Linked DNA regions of Homo sapiens: regions 1 and 3 are each linked to region 2. The links are contacts of gene promoters, found by promoter capture Hi-C in human tissues and cell types (Jung and others, 2019). All regions are on one chromosome and are shown on one strand. The core of a region is centred on a gene start or on the middle of the fragment in contact, and the rest is flanking DNA. Distances in the headings are between cores, read along the strand shown.

Evidence for each region. Contacts are between HindIII fragments. The study calls those that stand out against the background at their distance.
Region 1: a fragment that was not itself captured here is called in contact with the fragment with the promoter of FAM186A in region 2 in 1 of the 25 tissues and cell types used here (IMR-90 fibroblasts).
Region 3: a fragment that was not itself captured here is called in contact with the fragment with the promoter of FAM186A in region 2 in 1 of the 25 tissues and cell types used here (spleen).

The regions. Positions count from the first base shown.
Region 1 is chr12:50,066,257-50,071,029 of GRCh38, forward strand. The region is part of intron 3 of ASIC1 (acid sensing ion channel subunit 1); the gene reads left to right. Among named protein-coding and RNA genes, the nearest start is that of ASIC1, 11 kb to the left of the region's middle. The HindIII fragment of the contact is 4,189 bases long and covers 721-4,773 here.
Region 2 is chr12:50,395,103-50,399,844 of GRCh38, forward strand. It overlaps FAM186A (family with sequence similarity 186 member A), which reads right to left and starts at 1,507. Exons shown (of 8, transcript NM_001145475.3): 1 at 1,191-1,507. The coding sequence starts at 1,382. The HindIII fragment of the contact is 8,551 bases long and covers 1-4,433 here.
Region 3 is chr12:50,656,962-50,661,536 of GRCh38, forward strand. It overlaps DIP2B (disco interacting protein 2 homolog B), which reads left to right. Exons shown (of 38, transcript NM_173602.3): 4 at 3,233-3,358. It also overlaps the pseudogene RNU6-238P. Among named protein-coding and RNA genes, the nearest start is that of ATF1, 100 kb to the right of the region's middle. RefSeq lists an enhancer at 4,443-4,502. The HindIII fragment of the contact is 3,484 bases long and covers 1,217-4,575 here.

The DNA.
Region 1 (4,773 bases), core at 1,565-4,064, 330 kb before region 2:
AGGCTCAGAGGAGTTGTGTGACTTGCCTGAGGTCACACAGCTGGGAAATGACAGAGTGGGACCCTGACTTCAGATCTTCTAAGTCCGGGTTCTTTGTGTGTGGCTGTAGGAGTGTGTATGGAGGAGGGTGCTCTGTTGAGAAGCAGTGTGGAGAGGCAGGAAGGGCAAGAAAGGGTATAGAGAAGAGACCCTAGGAATCCCGTTCCCAAGTTGAGTAGGCCTAGTTTTTTGATGCTTTTGTCTTTTCATTGCATCATCAGGCCAAGTGCCAATCTTAGGTGAACCCACCACTGGCTTTCCCCAGGGTCACACCAGGGCAGTCAGGACCTCCCTGAGGAAGTCACATACCAGGGCAGCTTAGTATCACATTGCGTTCATGCTCAACATCCTTAAATGGGCGTGCAGTGCTGCCTGGCAACCCCACTGTGTTTTCCTGGTCAGCTTGCTCTCTCTGATGACTACTTCGAACTTCTCCACTCTTCTCAGTCACCCTTCCTAGCTCCTCTCTCACCCTCAGCGGATGACCTTGGCTACCACTTACTTCACTGAGAAAATAGAAGCCTCAGACAAGATCTTGTCCTTCTTCTGGGTACCAAGCCCTAGAAGGGAACATTCATCTTATCTAGGATAAAGTCTCAACCTAGAATTTTCATCTTATTCCCTCTGCCTTTTTAAGATCTTTCTCCTGCTAATTCTGTCTCTCCCTGCTCTACAGTTGGTCGCTCTTTCTCAAGTGAAACCCCATTGACAATGAAACATGCTGAAGATGCTCTTGTCTTAAAATACATAGCTGTAACGACAGCTAACATATATTGAGAACTTGCTATGTATCGGTCTTTGTGCTAAGATAAAAACTAAAACATGTGTCTCTCAACTCCACAGCACCTGCCAGCTCCTATAGTATCTCTCTGCTTCCCTTTACAAAGTTCCTAAAAGTGATATGTTTATTTCACTGTTTCTATTTCCTCATCTCTAACTCACTTTCTGATCCACTCCAGGCTGCCTTCTTCCCCCATCATCACCATTCCTCCTAAATGGTTCTAGCTAAGGCCAGTGGTCACCTTCATGTTGCCGAATCCAGCAAATATTTTTTTTATTATTCTTGATCTCTCAATAGCATTTAAAATAGTTGCCCACCAACTCTTCTGCTGTTGTTTTTTTTTTTTTTTTGAGACGGAGTTTTGCTCTTGTTGCTCAGGCTGGAGTGCAGTGGCACCATCTCAGCTCACTGCAACCTCCGCCTCCTGGGTTCAAGCAATTCTCCTGCCTCAGCCTCCTGAGTAGCTGGATTACAGATGCGTGCCACCATGCGCGGCTATTTTTTTGTTGTTGTTGTATTTTTCGTAGAGACGGGTTTTCTCCATGTTGGTCAGGCTGGTCTTGAGCTCCCGACCTCAGGTGATCCGCCTGTCTCGGCCTCCCGGAGTGCTGGGATTACAGGCGTGAGCCACTGCGCCCGGACCCCACCACCTCTTTTTTGAACTATTCGCTTTCCTGACAATCATACTCTCTTTGTTTTCCTCCTATGTCTACCCACTCCTCTGTCTCTTTGCCAGTTCATTTTCTTCTACTTGGCCATTTAGTGTCATCACTACTCAAGGCTCAGTCTCAAGCTTTAATCTTCTTTTAAATCATAAGAGTACAATGCACCAGCTTGAAAAATTTTTACACTGGTATGTCTTACAGTGTAGTATTTTGCATATTGCATTGGTATAAAACATTTCCAGTACCCCAGAAAGTTCCTTCAGGCTGTTTCCTAGTCAATGCTACCCCATAAGAGTTAACCACTGTTCTAACAGTATAGATCAATTTCCCTCATTCTTGAACTTCTTGGAGTATATGTATCCTCCATACAGTGTATACTCTTTTGTGTCTGTTTGTTTTGTTTTGTTTTGCTTGTGATTACGTCTGTGAGATTTAGCCATGTTGTTGTGTGTGGAAGTGGTTAGTTCTTTTTTGATGCTGTATAGTATCTCATTATATGAATATGCCACAATTGATCCATTCTACTGATGCTAGACATTTGGGTTGTTACTAGTTTTTGGCTCTTATCTATAAAGCTACTATGAACATTTTTGTTCATGTTTTTTGGTTGATATATGCACTCATTTCTCCTGGGCACATGACTAGCTATGGAGCTATGGTTAAGTCATAGGGTATGATTCTGTTTAGCTTTAGTGGATACTGCCAAATCAGACCTTTTTTTCTATCTTTTTTTTAAACTTTATATTCTATTCTTGGGCAGTCTCATCTTCACTCATCACTTCAATTACCATCTACACACTGACAACTGCCAAATTTATGTCTCAGCCCAGCTCTCTCCTCTTAGCATCAGCTCCAGTCGCCAATTTTCCCACTTAACGTCTCTACTTGGATGTCCCTAAGACTCCTCAAAACCTGCATGTGCAAAACCAAAGTCATCATCTTACCTCCCAAACTAGTTCTTTACCTGTGTGCCTGATCTAGTGAGCCACCCACTGTTCACCCCGTCATGCAAACCAGAAATCATCCCTGACACTCCATCTCCCTCACCTGCCTTGACAGGATCTGCCAATTTTGCCTCATAAACATCTCCACTCTACCCCCTGTTCCGGCCCATCCCACCACTGCATGTCTCTTTGGGCCACGGCAATGGCTCCTCGACAGGCCTTCCAGCAGCCCTTCTATATCCTTCACTCTGCAGCCAGAGTGGTCTTTTCAAATCAAAGCTCTGATCACTTGAACGCCTTCCATGGGGAGTCTTTCATTGTCCCTCAGCCAGAATCCTCACCGTGGCCTTTAAGGCCCTGAGTGACCTGGGTCCTCCCTGCCTTTACCCACCTCTCCAGCCACACTTGCCCCTTCTCATCTCTCTCCTTCCAGGCCTTTGCATACACTCAGTTCTCTCTCTGGAATATCCTCCCTCCTCCACAGCGGTAAGCGCTAGTGCGCACGTGCACACACACAAATATATACACACACACACCATTACCTAATTACTCCTCTTTATTTATTTTTTATTTTATTTATTTATTTATTTATTTATTTATTTATTTATTATTTAATTTATTTTTTTGAGACAGAATCTCGTTCTATTGCCTGGGCTGGAGTGCAGTGGTGCAATCTTAGCTCACTGCAACTTCCACATCCTTGGTTCAAGCAAGTCTCATGCCTCAGCCTCCCAAGTAGCTGAGATTACAGTCATGTGTCACCATGCCTGGCTAATTTTTGTATTTTTAGTAGATAAGGGGTTTCACCATGGTGGCCAGGCTGGTCTTGAACTCCTGGCCTCAAGTGATCCGCCCATTTCAGCCTCCCAAAGTGCTGGGATTACAGGCATAAGCCACCGCGCCCAGCCTCCTCTTTATTCTTTAGACTGTAATTCAAACATCATTTCCTCAGAGAAAGCTTCCTTAATTCCCCAGTCTGGGGCAAGTCCCTCTGTCATTCACTCTGATAGAGTCATTTTTTTTTTTCATAGCACTTATGGTTTGCAATTAGATATTTGTTTTTTTCATTTTTGAATTGAGGTCTGTCTTCCCTGTTCGACAGTAAGCTCCATGAGGGCAGGTCCATGATGTGTTCTCCACTGTGTCAATGAGTAAATGCAAGAATGAAGAAGCAAGGGATTTGGAGACAGATGACCTCATTCCAGCCTCCAGCCCACTTCTTGCTCTCCCTAAGACTTGAATAGGCTGGTGTGGCTCAGTTTTCTCACTTGTCAGATGGGAATGAAGTTACTCAAACCTGCTTATTTCACTGGGTTGTGTGAGGATCCCATGAGATAACAATTGAAAACCATGAAGCATTACACAGACATGAGGGGTGGCTGGAATGAAGAAAGGGATATAGAAAAAGTCAGAAACCACTCAGCACACACTGCTAAAGAGAAGGTCTGGGTGGGGGGCGCTGTATGCTTGGACAGAGGGTTCAGGACTGAGTGCAGCTCTGTGTGTGTGTCTGCTTGGGCACCTCTCCAGGGGCCCTCTGTGTATGCCCTTTGACACTTTCCTCATCCCCCAATTACTTGAACAAGATGAAGATGGGAAAGAATGTTAGAAGAATAAGCATTTGTTTGAACAAGCATACAGGCGATGGAGGAGAGAGGACATGCAGTTGGGTGTGTGTGTGTGTTGGGGTGTGTGCGTGTTGGGGTGTGTGTGTGTTGGGGCGTGTGTGTGTGTGTTGGGGTGTGTGTGTCGCCCCACACCAGGGCTGCGTGTCTGTGTGGTAATGTGCAAGTGTGCAGTGTGGTCTTGGTTGCTGTGGGGGAAGAGGTATTCAGTTGCACCCAACTTACTGTCCTTTGGCACTGTCTGTGCGTGCACACCCTTGTCTTTGCTGGGGCTCCCAAGCTGGAAGCTCCCGCTGCCTTAGCTGCTTCCTTCTGGAAATCAATCTACTTCCCCTTCCAAAACATCTGAAGGAGGGGGACAGTGCCCTCTAGTGGGAACGCATGGGCAGCTGCAGCTTCCTCAGCCCAAGCCTCAGCCCCACTCCACCCAAGTCTGGAAGTCCTCTCTGAAGCACTTCCTGGGGAATGCAAAGGAGGAGGCCCCTGCCCTCTGAGAGCTCAAGATCTGGCAGGCAGGAAAAAGATACACACAGGACAGGACACACAGGTTCATGCAGGAGAAGCCTGAGGACAGCAGCTGAAGGTGGGGGAGTCTCTCCTCATCTCTGCAATGACTTATCTCTGGTTGCCCTGGGTGTTCCTGGCCTTCCTTGCTTCCTGTTCCTGCACATGGTCTCTTGGTCCTGCTCTTTTGCTCTCGGTCATTACTCATAGCTGTA
Region 2 (4,742 bases), core at 257-2,756:
GTTTGTTTTTGAGACAGGGTCTCGCTATGTCACCCATGCTGAGTGGGGTGCAGTAGTGCAAGCATGGTGCTCACTGCAGTCTCCTGGGTTCAGGGGATCCTCTGGCCTCCCAAGGAGCTGGGACTACAGGTTTGAGCTAACATGCCTGGCTAATTTTTTTATTTTTAGTAGACAGGAGGTCTCCTTATGTTGGCCAAGCTGGTCTAGAACTCCTGGGCTCAAGAGATCCTCCTGCCTTGGCCTCCCAAAGCATTGGGATTACAGGCATGAATCGCTGTGCCTGGCCTGATTTTGTTGTACTGCGAGAGAATAAAATGCAGTATAACCTTAATTGTTTGGGGGTCTATTAGATTCTTATGTATTTATTTATTTATTTATTTTTCTAAAAATATAGATGGGGTCTCACTATGTTGACCAGGCTGGTCTCTAACTCCTGGCCTCAAGGGATCCTCCCATCTCAGCTTCCCAAAGTGTTGGGATTACAGGCATAAGCCACCGCACCCGGCTGACATTATGTAAACACTCTTTCTATTCTCCTTGAATTTCTCCTAATTTCTCCTTGAAGTGTACAGGGAAAATAAAAGGAGCTAGAATTCAAAGCCATCTAAATTCTATCTGGCTAATAGCTGTTTGATAAAACCTCCATAGGGAACAAATGAAAACTTTTTTTTTTTTTGAGATAGAGTTTCGCTTTTGTTGCCCAGGCTGGAGTGCAATGGTGCAATCTTGGCTCACCACAACCTCCACCTCCCTGGTTCAAGCAATTCTCCTACCTCAGCCTCCTGAGTAGCTGGGATTACAGGCAAGTGCAATCATGCCCAGCTAACTTTTTGTATTTTTAGTAGAAACGGTGGTTTCTCCATGTTGGTCAGGCTGGTCTTGAACTCCCGACCTCAGTGATCCGCCCGCCTCGGCCTCCCAAAGTGCTGGGATTACAGGCGTGAGCCACCATGCCCGGCTTGATTTATTTCTTAAATGGCTTTATTAAACCTGATATAAAGAGATTAATGTCAAATTGGAGCTTGTTATATCCACAGTCGGTGTCAGGTGAAATTGTCATTTGAAGTCAAAGCTACCCTAAATACAGTCAAATATCATGAAAGTGATTTCTAAAATAAACAAAAATGTACTTGGTCACAGAAAGTTTAAAAAGAAAATTGCAGTCTGTAAACTTCAGATTCACTACCTACCTCTCTGGCTCGATGGAGCTGTGCGCGCTCAATCCTAGAGATGATATCCTTTACTGAGAATGGGATCTCAAGGTTAGGGAGCATCAAAGGACTAAGGATATTTTGGGGCTCTCTTCTCATGATGGTGGAATCCTTGATGCATTTTTCTGATTCAGGGTCATTGTCTATCTCATTTTTCATTTTGAAGAACATTTTGAAAATGTGGGTGATTTCGTTTTATTTCTTCTTTTTCACAGAATCTACAAAAATGCTAATAAAGATATCCAGTAGGAAGCTAGGAGAGGTCTTTCCTGATCCTAGAAGTTGTGGCATACTCTGCTACTAATTGGTGGCTCCCATGATATTCCCGTCCTGTTGATGTCACAATAGACCCATTGTGACATTATCATTGATCAAACATGTAAAGAATGCTTACTATGTGCAGAGAACTGGTCATTCTATATGCTGCCATGGTAGAAGGGTGAGGGGGGAAGGAGGGTAGGAAATAATAGACAACAGGAATGCTAAAATAAACAGAAGATATAGCCCTGCTTAAATAAGCTTAAAATCTAGATGTGTTGGCCGGGTGCAGTGGCTCATGCCTGTAATCCCAGCACTTTGGGAGGCCGAGGCAGGTGGATCACCAGAGGTCGGAGTTCGAGACCAGCCTGACCAACATGGAGAAACCCCGTCTCTACTAAAAAAAAAAAAATACAAAATTAGCCATGTGAGGTGGCACATGCGTGTAGTCCCAGCTACTTGGGAGGCTGAGGCAGGAGAATCACTTGAACCCGGGAGGCGGAGGTTGTGGTGAGCCGAGATCACGTCATTGCACTCCAGCCTGGGCAACAAGAGTGAAACTGTCTCAAAAAAAAAAAAAAAAAAATCTAGGTGTGTCAAATATAACTCCTGGTTCTTCTCTCTTCCTGGGGTTTTGCTTAAGTATTTTTAAGCCTGTAATGGAATAAAGGTTACAACTACTTCCTCAGCTGCCCCTTAACTTTTCCTAGACATGTAGTAACTTGGATGATATCATTTGGATGAAGTAACTTGGATGATATCATTTGGATGAGGATCACACTCTTTGCACTGCTTACTCTTTTTTCTTTTCTTTTCTTTTCTTTCCCTTTTTTTTGGAGACAGAGTCTCACTTTGTTACCCAGGCTGGAGTGCAGTGGTGTGATCTTGGTTCATGGCAACCTCTGCCTCCCAGGTTCAAGAGATTCTTGTGCCTCAGCCTCCCTGAGTAGCTGGAATTACAGGTGCGCGCCACCACGCCTGGCTAATTTTTGTTTAATATTTGCTTCCAATTTTTTTAATAATAAAAAAGCATTACAGAAGGTTGAAGTCCTCTTTGATGTCCCCCACCCCTGGTTCCTTCCTTCCCCACTGTCCCATTCCAGAGGAAATGACAATCATGAATTTTACATATTTGTGTTATCTATTTTTACATAGTTTTACTACAGGTGTATGTATTGTTTTTTCTTTCTTTCTTTCTTTCTCCTTCCTTCCTTCCTTCCTTCCTTCCTTCCTTCCTTCCTTCCTTCCTTCCTTTCTTTCTTTCTTTTTTTTTTTTTGAGGCAGAGTCTCACTCTGTTGTCCAGGCTGGAGTGTAGTAGTGCCATCTCAGCAGACTGTAACCTCTGCCTCCCAGGTTCAAACGATTCTTCTACCTCAGCCTCCCGAGTAGCTGGGATTACAGGCATGCGCCACCACACCTGGCTAATTTTTTTTTTTTTTTTTTTTGAGACGGAATCTCGCCTGTGGCCCAGGCTGGAGTGCAGTGGCATGATCTCGGCTCACTGCAAGCTCCGCCTCCCAGGTTTGCTCCATTCTCCTGCCTCAGCCTCCCGAGTAGCTGGGACTACAGGCGCCCGCCACCACACCCGGCTAGTTTTTTGTATTTTTTAGTAGAGACGGGGTTTCACCATGTTAGCCAGGATGGTCTCGATCTCCTGACCTCGTGATCTGCATGCCTTGGCCTCCCAAAGTGCTGAGATTACAGGTGTGAGCCACTGCACTCGGCCTACACCTGGCTAATTTTTTATATTTTTGGTAGATATAGGGTTTCACTGTGTTGGCCAGGCTGGTCTCAAACTCCTCAAGTGATTCACTCACCTCGGCCTCCCAAAGTTTAGTTGTCAACTAAACTAAATTTGCATTATTCTTTCTCTCTCACTTGCATCTTTTATGCAGCATGGAATTCATCAATCAGCAACTAGACATGAAGGCTTTTCTTTGAGACAAAATCTCACTCTGTCACCCAGGCTGGAGTGCAGAGGCACGATCTAGGCTCACTGCAAGCTCCGCCTCCCAGGTTCACGCCATTCTCCTGCCTCAGCCTCCCAAGTAGCTGGGACTACAGGCGCCCACCACCACGCCCGGCTAATTTTTTGTATTTTTAGTAGAGAAAGAGTTTCACCGTGTTTGCCAGGACAGTCTCGATCTCCTGACCTCGTGGCCTCCCAAAGTGCTGGGATTACAGCCATGAGCCACCACGCCTGGCCATGAAGGCTTCTTAAAGTCAATTTTTAAATCCTGCTTCCCTTTCAATTCGACAAGCATTTGTTGAAACACTATGCAGCTTACATTATCCTAAACTGAAGAATATATGATAGGGTTCCTGTGAAGAAACTAAAACAAAAAAGAAAAGATTTAAGATAGAATATAATAATCAAGTGCTAATAAGGGACACGAAGAAGAGATCTGTAGAAGCAGAATCTTTGAGAAAACCTTATGGAGAGAGAAGGTTGATTGACAAATGGAGGCAATCCAGGTAGGGGCAACACCTTGAGCCATGGCTTTGGCGGTGAGTGCTAATGAGTTTGCATCTTAGGGGGAAAGTAAGGAGATTGGTTTAATCACTGAGATGACTTCACGGGAATTTACTGAGGACCACATTAGGGTGGGCCTGAGATAACAGATATCAGCAATTTGGTGGTGGAATTAATTTGGTATCTGAGGAGATTCCATTTGCGGCAAAGCAAGGAGGATTTCATGAGATCAGAATGGCAAAGTCTTGAAATCAAGTAACAGTGGTTTGGTGAAAATGAAACCTTCACTTTGGGAAGATTTTTTAAATAATAGAATGGAAAAATCCATTGGAAAAGATCAAGACATGATTATTTCATTTTTATTTATTATTATTATTTTTTAGAGACAGAGTCACACTCTGTCACCCAGGCTTGAGTGCAGTGGCGTGATCTTGGCTCACTGCAACCTCTGCCTCCCAGGTTCTAGCAATTCTCCTGCCTCAGCCTCCCACGTAGCTGGGACTACAGGCACACACTGCCATGCCTGGCTAATTTTTTGTATTTTACTAGAGATGGCATTTCACCATGTTGCCCAGGCTGGTCTTGAACTCCTGAGCTAAGGCAATCCACCCGCCTCGGCCTCCCAAAGTGCTAGAATTACAGGCGTGAGCCACGGTGTCCGGCCAATTTTTATTCGTTACTATTATTATTACTATATTTGAGACAGAGTCTCACTCTGTCACCCAGGCTGGAGTGCAGTGGCGCGATGTTGGCTCACTATTAACTCCACCTCCTGGGTTTAAGCGATTCGCCTGCCTCA
Region 3 (4,575 bases), core at 1,709-4,208, 260 kb after region 2:
TAATTGATTCCGTGCTCACTTCAGCAGCACATATACTAAAATTGGAACGATACAGGGAAGATTAACATGGCCCCTGAGCAAGGTGACACACAAACTCGTGAAATGTTCCATTAAAAATAAAAAATATTTTTTAAAAAAATGGCAGGTGTGGTGGCCCACACCTGTAATCCTATTCACTTTTGGATGCCAAGGCAGGAGAATCCCTTGAGCCCAGGAGTTTGAGACAGCCTGGGCAACATAGGGAGACCCCATCTCTATTTACAAAAAAAAAAAAAAAAAAAAAAGTTGATTCCACCAAGAATTATCAATGGATGCTAAAACTAGTGAGTTGAAAGGTTGACAAAGTATGTAACATTTATATAGTCTCAAAAGTATCCTCCCATGAATTACTTATTAATTGCAAACGGAAGAATGGTTAAGTTTACAGTGAGTTTATTTAGCAGATACCATAGTGACCAAAGTAACCAACTTTGCAATTAGAGTTATGTTACCATAGTGGAGCAGACACCTCCTGACATCATGTTTTGAGAAAGACATTATTTCTGGCTGGGCATGGTGGCTCATGCTTGTAATCCCAGTGCAGCATTTTGGGGGCTGAAGCAGGAGGATTCCTTGAGACCAGTAGTTGGAGACCAGCCTGGGCAATGTAGTGACACCCCATCTTTACAAAAAAAAAAAGAAGAAGACAACAAATTATTTCTATGGTATTTCTGCCAAATTGCATAACCTGAAATTAATTATAAGGAAATATCAAGCAAGCCAAAATTAAAGAACATTTTACAAAATAACTAGTCTGTACAAAAATATCAAGATAATAAAAGGCAAAGTAAGGCTGAGAAACAGTTCTGGATTATAGGGGAATCAAGAGACAGGACAACTAAGTAGGATTTCCTCCAGTAGATCCCAGATCAGGAAAAAAGGTGGGAGGGAAAACCTATAGAGGACATTATTGGGACAATAGACTATGTTGGAATATGGATTGTGGGTTAGATAATAGTTTGTATCAATGTTGAATTTCTGTATTTTGGCTGGTAATCCCAGCACTTCGGGAGACTGAGGCGGGTGGATCGCTGGAGCCCAGTTCAAGACCAACCCTAGGCAGCATACATAGCAAGACCTCATCTCAAAAAAAAAAAAAAAGAAAGAAAAAAAAGAAAAACAAGAATTTCTGGGGTTTGTTGTTTTGTTTTTTTGAGACAGAGTCTTGCTCTGTCGCCCAGGCTGGAGTACAATGGTGTGATCTCGGCTCACTGCAACCTCCGCCTGCTGGGTTCAAGTGATTCTTCTGCCTCAGCCTCCTGAGTAGCTGGAATTACAGGTGCGTGCTACCATGCCTGGCTAATTTCTGTATTTTTAGTAGAGACAGGGTTTTACCATGTTGGCCAGGCTGGTCTTGAACTCCTGACTTCAAGTTATCCACCCACTTAGGCCTCCCAAAGTGCTGGGATTACAGGTGTGAGCCATTGCACCCGGCCAATTTTTCTGGATTTTGAATAATGTCCTGGGGTTATATAAGAGAAAATTCCTTATTTTTAGGAAATATGTTTGAAACATTTCTGAAGAAATAAGTACATATACTTTGATCTCAGCAGTTTTTGTAATTAATTCTAAGAAAATAATTAGACATGTGCTAAGGTGAAAATACTGAATTATTCTTTCTATGAATAATTTCAAAAATTTGGAAATAACCTAGTATCTGATAATAAGGAATTGTGTAAGTAAATCATGGCACATTCATGCAGTGAAATACTATGCAGCCCTTAAAAGTTATGTTGTTGGTCTGTACACAGTGAGGTGTTTCTCCTTGTATTAGTGGAGGTTTTTTGGTTGCAAGAAACAGAAGCTGGCCGGGCGTGGTGGCTCACGCCTGTAATCCCAGCACTTTAGTAGGCCGAGGCGGGCAGATGACAAGGTCAGGAGTTCAAGGCCAGCCTGACCAAGATGGTGAAACCCCACCTCTACTAAAAATGCAAAAATTAGCTGGGCGTGGTGGCGTGTACCTGTAGTCCCAGCTACTTGGGAGGCTGAGACAGGAAAATGGCTTGAACCTGGGAGGCAGAGGTTGCAGTGAGCTGAGATTGCGCCACTGCACTCCAGCCTGGGCGACAGAGCGACACTCCATCTCAAAAAAAACAGGTCAACTTACATAGGCTACCTTAAATAGCTGAGGTAGGTCATAGAAACAAATCAACATTTGAAAAACCCCTAGAAAGGAGAGATAACTCTGGGAATCTCAACCTTGAAGTTTAAAACCTTCCTTCTTTCTAGGGCATTGTCACATTGTCGTTAAAGTGATTCCATTTAGGACCTGCAGTTTCTTGATTCAGAGTTTAAATTTAAAAAAGAGGATCTCATTGGTCTAGCTCTTATAAGGGGTATATTTACTTTACAGAGCGGTATGGAAGGATAGTTTGTTTGTGGATTAGGCCCATTCCTAGACAAAAGGAAACTATTTTTTTTGTGACTTAGGAAGCTACCTCAGCTGTTATCTACCTCAGTAAGATTTTGTAAGAGTTTTTTTTTTTTTTAGCGGGATACAAAATACTGTGTACAGTATGATTCAATTTTGTGGAACTATAGAGTGACCTTTGGAGTGGGGGTAGAAAATGAAGAGTTTTGTTTGGATGTGTTAATTTTGAGATTCCTATTAGACATTCAAGTAGAGAGCTGAAATTTTTTGTGCCCAAAGTGGCAAACAATTAACATCTGCCCTTATGTTTTTCTAGATCAAAATAAATCCTTCTCTTCCTGTGGCATAGAACTGAGGGGTCTCAACCAAGTTTTCTTTCAGACTTGAAAGAAATTTTCTTTCAGTTAAGAAAATCCTAAGCTTCTTTTCTTGAAAAATAATGAGTGTTCTCCAGGCACCTGCACAGCGCTCATTCCATTTGAGGCAGAATTTCCTGCTTGGCACAGATGCATGTTAGACTCAGTATTCTGTCCCCACCCACCTCCCCACATCTCTGTCAACTCTTTGTCTGGTGTGTTAAGGAGTCACACATCATTCTGGACTTCATTTTCCTCCTCCGTAAAATTATCCCTGGCTTCTTTTATTTTTGTTTTTGATTTTTATTTCTAATTGGTCTTAATCAAATTATAAATAAAAATCATCTGAACGTCCCCTTTACCTTTTTTTTTTTTTTTAAACAATTGAGGCAGTGATAGTTCAGCTCACAGTGGTAAACACTTTCAAGAGCCGGAAGCTAATAAATGCAAATGTTTGCTTTTTCAGATATCCACACAGAAGCAGTTCAGGCTGCACTGGCAAAGCATAAAGAACAGAAGATGGCTTTGCCCATGCCAACCAAAAGGCGATCCACATTTGTTCAGTCTCCTGCAGATGCCTGCACACCTCCTGGTAGGTTTATCAGAGCTTTTTCTCTCTGACAGTTAATACCTTGATGTTCCTGAAATAAGTTCTGCTTTTTCTTTTCTGAGGTAAGAACCAGAATCTTCTCCCCGCCATTAGAGGAATGTAAGAGAACACTCTGAGGTGGCAGATTTTGCTTGTCATCTCGTAAACAACACACAAAAAGATGTCTTAAGAGTAAAACTATTCAAAACTAAACAAAAAAACTTTCCTTCTGAATTTCCAGTCTTTTTTTTTTTTGGCTGTAATCCCCAGACTTATGTAGTCATAAATACAGGCCAAAGCTTAGGCCAAAATCCTGCTGTGTTAAATAGCCACTTTCATTGTCACCCAATATACTACTTGTAGTCATATATCTAATTCATTTGTACTCCTAAACCAAATGCTTCGTCTCTGCAGCAGGCATGAGAATTGTTGGACTTGGGACAAAAGTTTTTGTGTCATTAACAATTATGGAAGAGCAATCATGCAAAGTTGTGATGGACCTGCAAAACGTATATAAGTGTGTTTATGTGTGTGTGTGTTAATGTATTTTGTACACATTTATTTATTTTTTAAGAATCTACTTTTTATAACGGGGTCATGAGATCAGTGAGAACTAGGTATCTTCATCCCATCCCTGTTCACCAGACTTCAATCCTTATGCTCCCTAAGGTAAATTTAAAGAGTTATAACTTCATATTTGAGGAATAACTAGAAACAATCTAAGTTGTCTTGTCTGTTCAGAATCTCTCCCAAAGTTTTTTTAAAACCTTAAAAAAAATTTTTTTTGAACTTCTCTAGTGGAAGCTCGAAAAAAATTTTTTTTAGATCGAATCCCAGACAAGATCTTGATATAGGCCTTTGAGACTAAACATAGTAAATCTATTTCAGAGCCTCAATATAGTGTCTCTCTTTCTACTTTCATGTTACTGGTAATGAAATCTTTGAGAACAAATTTCCCCATACTTTTTTGGCCTAAACTACTTAATACGTCTTTGGGGAGATTCCTAGGTTGCCTTATGGTTGACTTTGATTCACAGCTGTCAAGTTGTTGAGCTGTTCATACTGATCCTATTCCCTGATCCAGATTAATATTAATAGTTTTCTTCTCGGTTTTGGCTAACTTCTCAGAGCATTTGGGTATGCTGTGGGCTCATTTACTGTGTGTGCTTTTTTTCTTCACATCTGTGGTGTCAACATGTTTGAAAGAGAAATAGCTCTGT